Regions from separate parts of the Homo sapiens genome. Here region 2 is linked to region 1. Evidence: promoter capture Hi-C in human tissues and cell types (Jung and others, 2019). All regions are on one chromosome and are shown on one strand. The core of a region is centred on a gene start or on the middle of the fragment in contact, and the rest is flanking DNA. Distances in the headings are between cores, read along the strand shown.

The links. The method cuts DNA at HindIII sites, captures the fragments that hold promoters and counts their contacts. A contact is called where the count stands out against the background at its distance.
Region 2: a contact is called between a fragment that was not itself captured here and the fragment with the promoter of GPR20 in region 1, in 2 of the 25 tissues and cell types used here (H1 embryonic stem cells and mesendoderm cells).

The regions. Positions count from the first base shown.
Region 1 is chr8:141,364,725-141,369,523 of GRCh38, forward strand. GPR20 (G protein-coupled receptor 20) reads right to left here and starts at 2,562. Exons shown (of 2, transcript NM_005293.3): 1 at 2,477-2,562. RefSeq lists an enhancer at 3,325-3,874 and a silencer at 4,239-4,421. The HindIII fragment of the contact is 55,577 bases long and covers 1-4,799 here.
Region 2 is chr8:141,221,798-141,226,577 of GRCh38, forward strand. The region is part of intron 2 of SLC45A4 (solute carrier family 45 member 4); the gene reads right to left. Among named protein-coding and RNA genes, the nearest start is that of SLC45A4-AS1, 30 kb to the right of the region's middle. RefSeq lists enhancers at 1-670, 671-1,409. The HindIII fragment of the contact is 4,890 bases long and covers 1,086-4,780 here.

The sequences.
Region 1 (4,799 bases), core at 1,312-3,811:
TTGGAGGTCCTGCATGTCACCTGCCAGCCCCTCCCTGCCTCCCCATCATTGGGTTCATTGCTCACCTCTAGCTGGGTGTCTCTGGGAGGGGCATGGCCAGTTGGAGGTCCTGCGTGTCACCCACCAGCCCCTCCTTTCCTCCCCATCACCGAGTTCATTGCTCACCTCTAGCTGGGATAGCCGTAGCTGCAGCAGCTCCTGAAACCCCTCCCCAACCTCAGCCTCTCCAGGAGCTGCTGGGACAGGCATTCTGTCATGTGCACCTGCCTGGCCTCAGCCTGGTCCTTCCGCCTGAAGCTCCTCAGCCTGGTCCTCTCAGCCTCTTCCCTCTGCATGTGCTGTTCCTTCTGCCCGGAATGCTGTTTCTCTCCCTGTGCCACCTGGTGAAGGCTCCGGGCACCCACAGTCATTGTTCCACAGAGCTCTCCCTGAGCCCCTCTGATGCCCTAGTGCCCTGGATGCCCCTGCCCCAGGGGGAGAGCTATGATCCCACAATCTGAAGGGCACCCGCTGGGCTCATCCTTCCCAGGGTCTTATTGACTTCCCTCAAGATGCCCCTGGGTGGGTGTTTCTGGCCCCACTGTGCCTGTGGGGAACCAATACAGAGGGGCTAAGTCATGTGTCCGGGCTCACCCAGCTGGGGTGCAGGAGGGGCTGAGCTCTGCCTCAATCTGCCTGCTGGCACTTTGTCCCAGTGCCTGGGATCAGCCTTCTGCGGCACCCAGCCCTGTGTGTGGAGGGAATCAGAGGCCCCAGGCCACACAGCCCCGTGCAGTTTGGAGGTGTCAGACCAGGACTTAGACCCCAGCACTGCGGGCACAAATGGGTCCCAGGCAGACCTGGCCCCACCTTTCCGAGCTGACAGCTCAGGGTAGGGTGGGAGGTGGCTGGTCACGGCCGGGATGGGCCTCAGGACAATCAGAGGGAAGAGCGCTCCCGGCAGCAGGAAGGGCACAGTGAGCATGAAGGGCCAGAGGTGGGAAGGAGAGTCTGTGTTCAGGGCTCTGTGAGACACCGGGGGCGTGGGGAGGGCTTTGGGACGTATGGTGAGGGGATCAACTTAAGGTTCTTTGGGCCCTGACGCCCCTCCTCAGGGAGGCCCTCCAGAGCCCACAGCCCCGCACGCCTGCACCGCCTGGCTTCCTTCGCAGTGCCCTGCCACGCGCAGTTCCCTATGTCCCTGCTTTCCTGTTCGCTGTGCTTCCCTCACTGAACTGGAGTGCCTCAGGGGCCCTGGCCTTGGCTGGCCCCTCTGAGTCACTGAGTCACTGCTGAGTGATGGAGTGGATGATTTTAGAATACCCCTCTGATCTCCTTGAGCCTCAGTTTCCTCATCTATAAAGAGGAGATGCTAATACCACTTAACAAGAAGACAATGAAGCCACCCCGTGGGCTCCAGGAGCTGCTCAGAAATGGTCCAAACTGCATGGCCCCCACGCCCGGCTCTCCAGCCGCAGACCCCGCCTTTGCTGATGGGCCCACACCGTGTGGCTCAGAGAGGGGCAGCGACTTGCCACGGCCACTCAGCAGACCGCCCTGGAGCCCAGCGACTGGATGAGTCCTGGGGGGAGAGGGGAGGGAAGACCCAGGATGACCAGCTGTTGAAGGAAGAAGACAGGGCAAGTGGACAGGCCCAGCCTCCTGCGGGGTGCATTCCCCGTCCTGCGAGGTCGCCAGCTGCTCCACGTCTGCCCCGCCAGCACCCTGGCTGCTGGCCAGTTCCCAGCCCGCTGCCCCCTCGGGACCCTGTCCTGCCGCCTTCTCACAGCGCAGTCCCAGTGCGAGCTTCGCGGGGCTGGAGCCAGCTTCTAGGTCCACACTGAGGGCTGGCAAGCAAGCCTTCCCTGGGACTCAGTTTCCCCACCCCTAAGGGGTAGAGACAGCACCAAGGCTACTGCAGAGGGCCTGAGCTGTGGGATGGCAGGACGGGCACTCTGAAGAGGGAGCATGGCGCTTGGAGCCCATGCCCACAAAGCCCTCACCATGGCCCTGCCCCAGCTGCGGGGTGGTGGTGGCTGAGGCCCCAGAGCCTGCCAAGTGCCTCTGGGGTCCCCCAACTCTGTCCCTGGCTTGGCCTGTGGGCCACCCTGCTGCCTTGCCAGGTGGGGAAACCAAGACCCAGCTCTGGGCACCCAGCAGATGCTCGGTGAGTGTTGAACGGAGGGATGAATGAGTGAATGAATGAAATCCAGAGTTGGGTGGGCACCTAGCAGCGCAGCTCCCCCTTATGCAGCCAGCCCAACTCACGCCCATGTTCTCCCTCAGGTCTCTGTTTTCTCATCTGAGAAATGGCTCCCTGTCCAGCAGGACCTGCTCTGAGCTCTCCCCAGCCCGGATCTGGAGGCAGTTTCTCTGCCCTGCCCTTCCCACTCCTGCTTGGCTGGGGGTGAGAACCCCTGCAGGGAGCAGCTCAGGAGCCTCCTATCTAGGGAAGCTGGGGAGAGGGAGGCTGGGGCCAGCCCACAGGGGAACTTACCGCGCTTCACCCGGGCAGGCTGGAGATGGGAGTCCTCAGCTCTCAGCTCTGCATGCAGCCCGGACCTCGCCTTCCTACGGCCTGACGTCAGGCCAGCGCTTGGGGCTCCTTTTGGGCAAAGGCAGGGTGGGGGCGGGGCAGGCTCCTTCCCCGCCCCCAGGAGGAGTCAAGGCTCAGAGCCTGAGGGACGGTGCCTGGGGCACCAGAGTCCCCACACCCACTGGAGACAGAAGAAGAAACCGAGGCACAGAGGGGCCTGGGGCACCAGAGTCCCCACACCCACTGGAGACAGAGGGGGAAACTGAGGCACCGAGGAGCTGAGCCTCAGCTGCACCATCCAGGAGGTGGTGGCTGGCACTTGTGTGTGCCGTGTGCAGGGCAGGAGGTGGGAAACTGAGGCACGGAGGGGCTAAGCCTCAGCTGCACCATCCAGGAGACAGTGGCTGGCACTTGTGTGTGCTGTGTGCGGGGCAGGAGGGGGAAACTGAGGCACGGAGGGGCTGAGTCTCAGCTGCACCATCCAGGAGATGGTGGCTGGCACTTGTGCGTGCTGTGTGCGGGGCAGGAGGGGAAAACTGAGGCACAGAGGGGCTGAGTCTCAGCTGCACCATCCAGGAGACGGTGGCTGGCACTTGTGTGTGCTGTGTGGGGGGCAGGAGGGGGAAACTGAGGCACGGAGGGGCTGAGTCTCAGCTGCACCATCCAGGAGATGGTGGCTGGCACTTGTGCGTGCTGTGTGCGGGACAGGAGGTGGGAGCACACGAAAGCCCAATTTCCTTCCCGGGAGGGGGCATGTGCATGGTAGCTTCAGCCCACGCAAGCCTGGGTTCCTGCATGGCTCTCTGTTTTGCATGTGTCCTGGGTTTGGCTGTGTCTGTGTGTACCCATGACCGACAGCCTGCACACCTGGCATCTGGGCCTCTGTTTGCACCCATGCACCGGTGGCATGTGGCATGTGGGGTCAGGTGTGTGGGAAAGACCTGGACGTGACCCAGGCCAGCAGGTGGGGAGAGCGTGTGGGACCCGGACCTCAGTGCTGGAGGAAGCGTGAGCTCATCAACAGGCTTGATCCCAGAGGGCTGCTGGAGGGCCACTCTCCCCAGACAGCTTCAGAGCCAGGAGGCCTTGTGGCCAGCCTGGGGTGGCAGCGGGGGTTGTCGGGGAGCGGTTGGGGCCATTTAGTTAGTGTCTCCTCTGCCGAGAGCACCATCTCCTCTTGTTCCCATCCCGTGTGCTTCTGCTGATACTCACACTTTAACCTTCCAGCCGCCTGAGTGCCGAGGCCCTGCTGAGTGGGTTGTACTGCACACCGGAGACTCAGGGAAGGCTCCCCAAGGGAGGGGCTGGGCCTTCCCGAGCTCAGGCTGGTTGTAATGCAGACCAACAGGAGAGAGTAGGTGGGCCCTAGGGTCCTGACCCAGCCTGCTGGGGAGGGATGCCGTCTGGGAAGGCTTCCTGGAAGGGGCAGAGGGAGGTATAACAGGAGGCAGGCAGCCCAGATGGGCAGAGGGACAGGAGGCCATCAGAATATTTCCTGGGGAGCAAAGCTGGGAGTGGGCAGGGGACTTCTACACTGAGTCTCAGCAGCCTCTATGGGTACCAGAGTGCTGCAACAGGGAGCCATTGAAAGTTCTGGGAGAGGATGGTTTCTTCACTCTGGAGCAGCCTCCCTGCGGCTGCAGGGCTGAGCCCACAGGCTGCAATTATCTCCTTTAGAACATCGTTGTGTCTGTTTTAGCTGGGGAAACTGAGGCCCAGAGAGGCACAGGAGTCTCTGGCCACCAGCCTCTTGCACCTCTCTGGACCAGGACTGGCTCCTGGCAGGCAGGGTTTCACCGGGCTTGTGGAAGGTGGGGGTGGATGCAATGTCATTTTTGTGTGGGGGTGGCCTGGAGGCAGCCCAGATTGGGCAGGGCTGGAGCCAGAGGAGGCTCAGATTTCCTGAGCAGGCGAGGGTGGCTGAGTCACCGCACCAGTGCCAGGCCTCATGCCCACCTCTGAGGGCCTGGGGCTCCAGCCTTGCACTCTCAGGCTTGTTCTCAGAGAAATCTCAGAGACGGTCCCCCAGCAAACAGCGGGGAACTGCCTGGGGAGGGGTCACAGCCCACGCCAGCCTCCCTGACTCCTCCCCCAGGGAGACTCTTCTCAGCAGGACCCAGGGATCCTCTTGGGGGGACACCAGGGATGGGGGTCCCGAGCTCAGGGCCAACACTCCACAACCCTCAGAGGAGACAGGGCACAGGGACAATTTCCTCCTTGTCATCTTTATCAGGCTGGCAGGTCAGGCCAGGCTGTCTGTGACTGGGGTCAGGGGTCAGAGGTC
Region 2 (4,780 bases), core at 2,281-4,780, 140 kb before region 1:
GGCACTGGCCGGGCTCTGCCACAGTTTTCCTGGGAGCCCCGCGACAGGCAGGTGCCTCTGTGTACACGCACGCATGCGCACATCCCCTGCTCAGGTTGTCTCCACGGGGTAGACTTTCCTTTTTCTGCAAGGCCAGATGACCTGAAATCAACCCAGCCCCAGCTGTAAGCATCAGATGGCCAGAGAAAAGCAGCCAGGCCTTGGAGTGCCAGTGGGCTCCACCTGCACTGGCCCGAGCCTAAGGGGCAGCACACACTGACTGTGCAGGCACATGGAGGGCGCCCCGCCCAGGGCTGGACACAGGGCTGAGCCCCTCCACACTGCTGGTGCTGTCCAGGGCCTCAGGGCTGCTGAAGGCCACTTTGAGGGTGGCAGGCACAGGGCCACTGTCCCTTGACACCAGACAGTCTACAAGAGCAGGACGGTGACTGCAGCTTCACAGAGGCAGGAAGGGCCCACGACTTCTAGACCTCACTGGCTGAAAATGTACCATGGAGGGTCCTGCAGAGGGTCCCCACAGCCAGCAAAAGGCTGTTCTGTGTGGCCACTGAGTGGGGGCAGGGGGATGCACCATGAGTGTCTCCAGCTGGAGCCAAGGGGTTGCAGATGGCACCTGTCATGCTCACATTCTCCTTCCTGACCACCCAGGGAGGTAGGAAATATGGTGCCTATTGCAGACAGAGAAACTGAAGCTCAGAGAGGTTAAGTAATCCACCCCAGGTCACACAGCTAGGATTCCAGCCCAGGGCTACCTGATTTCAAACTCTGTCCCTGAGTTGACACGCTGCCTCCCTATCACAGAAACCCGCGTGTCCATCACCAACCAGGCGGGCAAACAGTGTCGGCAGTCACAAGCACCACAGCACGGGAACGAGCGGCCGCCTTGTGCAGCCGTGAGCACGAGCCCACTCACAGCGCTGAGCGAAGCAGCCACACAGATGACCACGCACCTCTGACGCCTGTCGTGTGATGTCCAAAGGCGCGGAAAGGACCCTCCACTGTGAGAACTTGGGTGCCGGTTGCCCTTGGCAGGGGGCAGGGGGCAGTGGCTGAAGCGGGGTCGGGTGTCTGTTCTTGATCTGGATGGGAGTCCCACGCTCCAGTCACGCGGTGCCAATTCATCCCACAGGGGACTTGAGATCTGTGCCCTCTCCCCATACTATACGTCAGTAAAACACTTCCTTACGAAATAAAGGTGCTTGGCACGCCAGCGGCTCATCTGGCTAACATTGTACACTGCCAAAAGCCATTGAGAATATTGTGTTGAGCTAGCAAGAAAAATAAACTTGTGTGGGAGGAGGAAATCATTTTCAGAGGAGGAGGGAAGCACCTTTCAAAATTATTGCTAATGTGCTCACTAAAACATGTATGCATTCGGCCGAGGATTTAAGGTGTTTGCTTTGACCTTTGCACTGCACACAACTTCAGGAAGGGTACATTTTATTCCTACTCGGAGTCAGCAGAAAGGACTGATGTTTCAGGAAACGAGAAGTATGTGACGCGTGTCCGCTGGATGGGTGAGAGTTTACACGGCAGACCCGGGTTCCTCAGCTTCACCGGAACTGAGTCCCTGCCCTTGTTAATAATGATCCATCAGGAAGCCTATTTCTCAGAAAAGTCTCTTTATCAAAACTACGCAGAGGGCGCAACACTCAAAACCTCAGAAAGAATGGGAAGCGGTCATTACTCCCACCACATGCAGACTGTACCAATGTATGTCGGCAAACCCGTGCCAGGCAGCCCCTCGCAGAGCTGCGGAGCCTGTGTGCGGTCCTGGCTCCTCTGGATTGGGCACCCAGAAGGGCTCTCGGTGCCTCCTGTAGCAGCGCGCTGGTTCTCACCTCCCTGCCTGGGAACCCCTCCTGCTGTCCCTTTTCAAACTCCTTGGGGGCCATCCACCCAGGAGGCCCCCGCCAACCCTGCGCACGCCAGGTCCTGCGTTTTCCACACAGCATTGAAGCCACCTCGGCCACCCACATGCACTCACGAGAGACCGTGCCCCCAGAGGGCCGTAGCTGCTCACTCCTCTCTCTCCACCACTCACCCCAGTCTGGCACCAGATGGGACCTGTGACCCACAGAGGGCTCGAACACTAGCTGACCTGAACCAAACCACTTTACCATTTCCAGCAGTCCTCTTTCCTTTCTGAAAACTCTGACTTTTCATCTGATATCCCTTCGCTTAATCCTGAAGGATTTTCTGTAGTTTTTTTTTTTTTTAGCATTTCTAATAGGAGGGGCTCTGCTGACGACAAATGCTCTTGGATTCTGTCTGAACTCTCCTTATTACACTTACACTCTTGAAGAATATTTCTGCTGCACACAGAATTCTGGGTTAATTCCTCCCAGCCCAGATCTTCGAAGATGTGATCCACTGTGTCCTGAACCCCATGGTTTCTGACAGGGCGGCTGTGGTGATTCCCATGAGTGTCCCCTTGTATGTCATGGATCCTTTTTTCTCTGGCTGCCTTAAAGATTCTCTTTACTGCTGCTTTTCAGCAGTTTGACAATGACAAGCCTAGACAGGGATTTCTGGACACACATCCTGGTTGGGCTTTCTGGAGCTTTATGAATTTGTAGATTTATACGTTTCACCAAGTTTAGAAAACATCCCGTTCATCCCGTTACGTCTTACTTCAAAGCTGTGAGTTTTTTGGTTTTGTTTTGTTTTTGGAGACAGGGTCTTGCTGTCACCCAGGCTGGAATGCCGTGGCACAATCTCAGCTCACTGCAACCTCCGGCCTCCTGGATTCAAGCAATTCTTGTGCCTCAGCCTCTCGAGTAGCTGGGTACAGGTGTGCACCACCACACCCGGCGGCTAATTTTTGTATTTTTTGTAGAGACAGGGTTTTGCCATGCTGGCCAGGCTGGTCTCAAACTTCTGAGCTCAAGCAATCTGCCCACCTCGGCCTCCCGAAGTGCTGTGATGACAGGCGTGAGCCACTGCACCTGCCCCTGCAAAGGTTTTACATCCCATTCTCTATTTCCTTTCTTCTGGGGTTCCCATGACAGACATCAGACCTTTGAGATCATCCCTCTGTTTCCTGGAGCATTCTTCATTTCTTTTTTCAGGCTTTAATCTCTATATGATCATTTCTGTTGACATATCATGAAGTCCACTGACTCTTCTGTCCCCTCCAATCTGCTGTTAACCCCATCTGGTTCATTTTCTATTTTGATACTGTAGTTTTCAGACCTAGAATTTCCACTTGGCTCTATTTCTGTAGCTTCCATTTCTCTGCTGGGACTCTGTGCTCTCCATTCTGAGCATGTTTTCTGTCCTTGGGTGTAGTTACGCACACCCATCTGACCAGTGCGACACGCGACATCATCGTGGGTCAGCCTCCACTGCTGCCGTCCTCCAGCAACGGTCGCCTTTTCTTTTTTAAAAAAAACATGTCTAATAACATTGAGTTGTATCCTAGACACTGTGAATGATGTGTCATAGACTACACTGCTATATTCCTCTGAGAGTGTTCATGGTTTTATTTAACACGAGGGTTTGAAATTCCCGCCCCATCTCCTAACTCCACCCGAACTCTGCCTGTGGGTTCTTCAAGAAAGGCAGAGTGGAGTTAACTATCCAAGTTTCAGCCACCCTGTGTTGCGTCAACGAAGGCCAACAGTCGGGTTAAAAGCGGTGCCAAGAGAGAAACCCAGGCATTCCCTCTTCCAGCCATCACCTTCCTACTTGGTTTCTGCCCCAAGCGCTGGCTGGGTGTCAGGAGGGTGGGGAGGACCTGCAGGTGCGACCCAGCCCACCTAATCTAGAGGAGGCGCTGCGTGCACAGGCCTGTCCCGCCTTTGTGCTGCCAACCCTGGGAGCCGGGAAGACGCTGGGTCCGGAGCAGCCCTGGACCAGGCAGCCGTCCCCAGCCCAGAAGGGAGGCTTCTCACCCCGGGAGACAAGAAGGCACAGGGCACTGGGGGGAACCGCTAGGCCCGGGCCAGGCCCTCGGCTCCCAGTCCTCCTGTGGAGGCTGCTTCTCCACCCTTGTCCCACAGGCCCCTCCAGAGCCTGGTGGGACCCGGCCCCAGGCCTCCCTGGGCACCTCCACCCGCCAGCCTCCTCCCCTTTGCCCTCAGCTCTGACTCCTATAGTCCCCACAGCTGCCCCAGCCTCCGTGCGGCCCCGGCCCTGGTCTCTCCTGTGTTGCCAGCCCCCAGCCCTAGGTCAGGCCTCCCCACGCCTCTCTCTGACTCCCACTAACTCACCCCTACATCTGGCCGGCCTGCCTTGGGACCCAGGTCAGCCCCTCAAACCACACAGCTGCCATGGACTGTGCCTGGAAGCCTTGGACCGTTCCTCATGGCCTGACATCGTGATTTTAACTTTACACCCTGCGGTGTCAGGGCCCGCGTTCCAATCCTCAACAAGACACTGTGGGGCTTCCTTTCTCCATCTTTCCCCTCTGCTTGGACAACCCCAAGTCTACACGTCGGGACTGGCACTTGGCACATTCAAAGGGGATCAGTGGAGACACAGAGCCCACCGTGGCACCACCGCCCGTGCCTCCCACCCACGATGCTCAGTGCGGCGAGCAGCACACGGGCCTCCTGCTGGGGTGCTCTCAATGCTGGTGCGCAAGGTGCCCTGCCCCACGTGCTTTCCCTGGAAGGGGCGGCACGCCTTGGCACCAAGCATCTACACCCAACGACAGCTGTCGCTGCTGAACCTCTCGGTGGGCCTGGCGCCACCCCAGGTGCTGGCCTGTCCCCTCTGGAGGAATCCAGAATCTGGCCAGAGCAGGAGACCCACGACTGGGGTACACAAGGCAGGA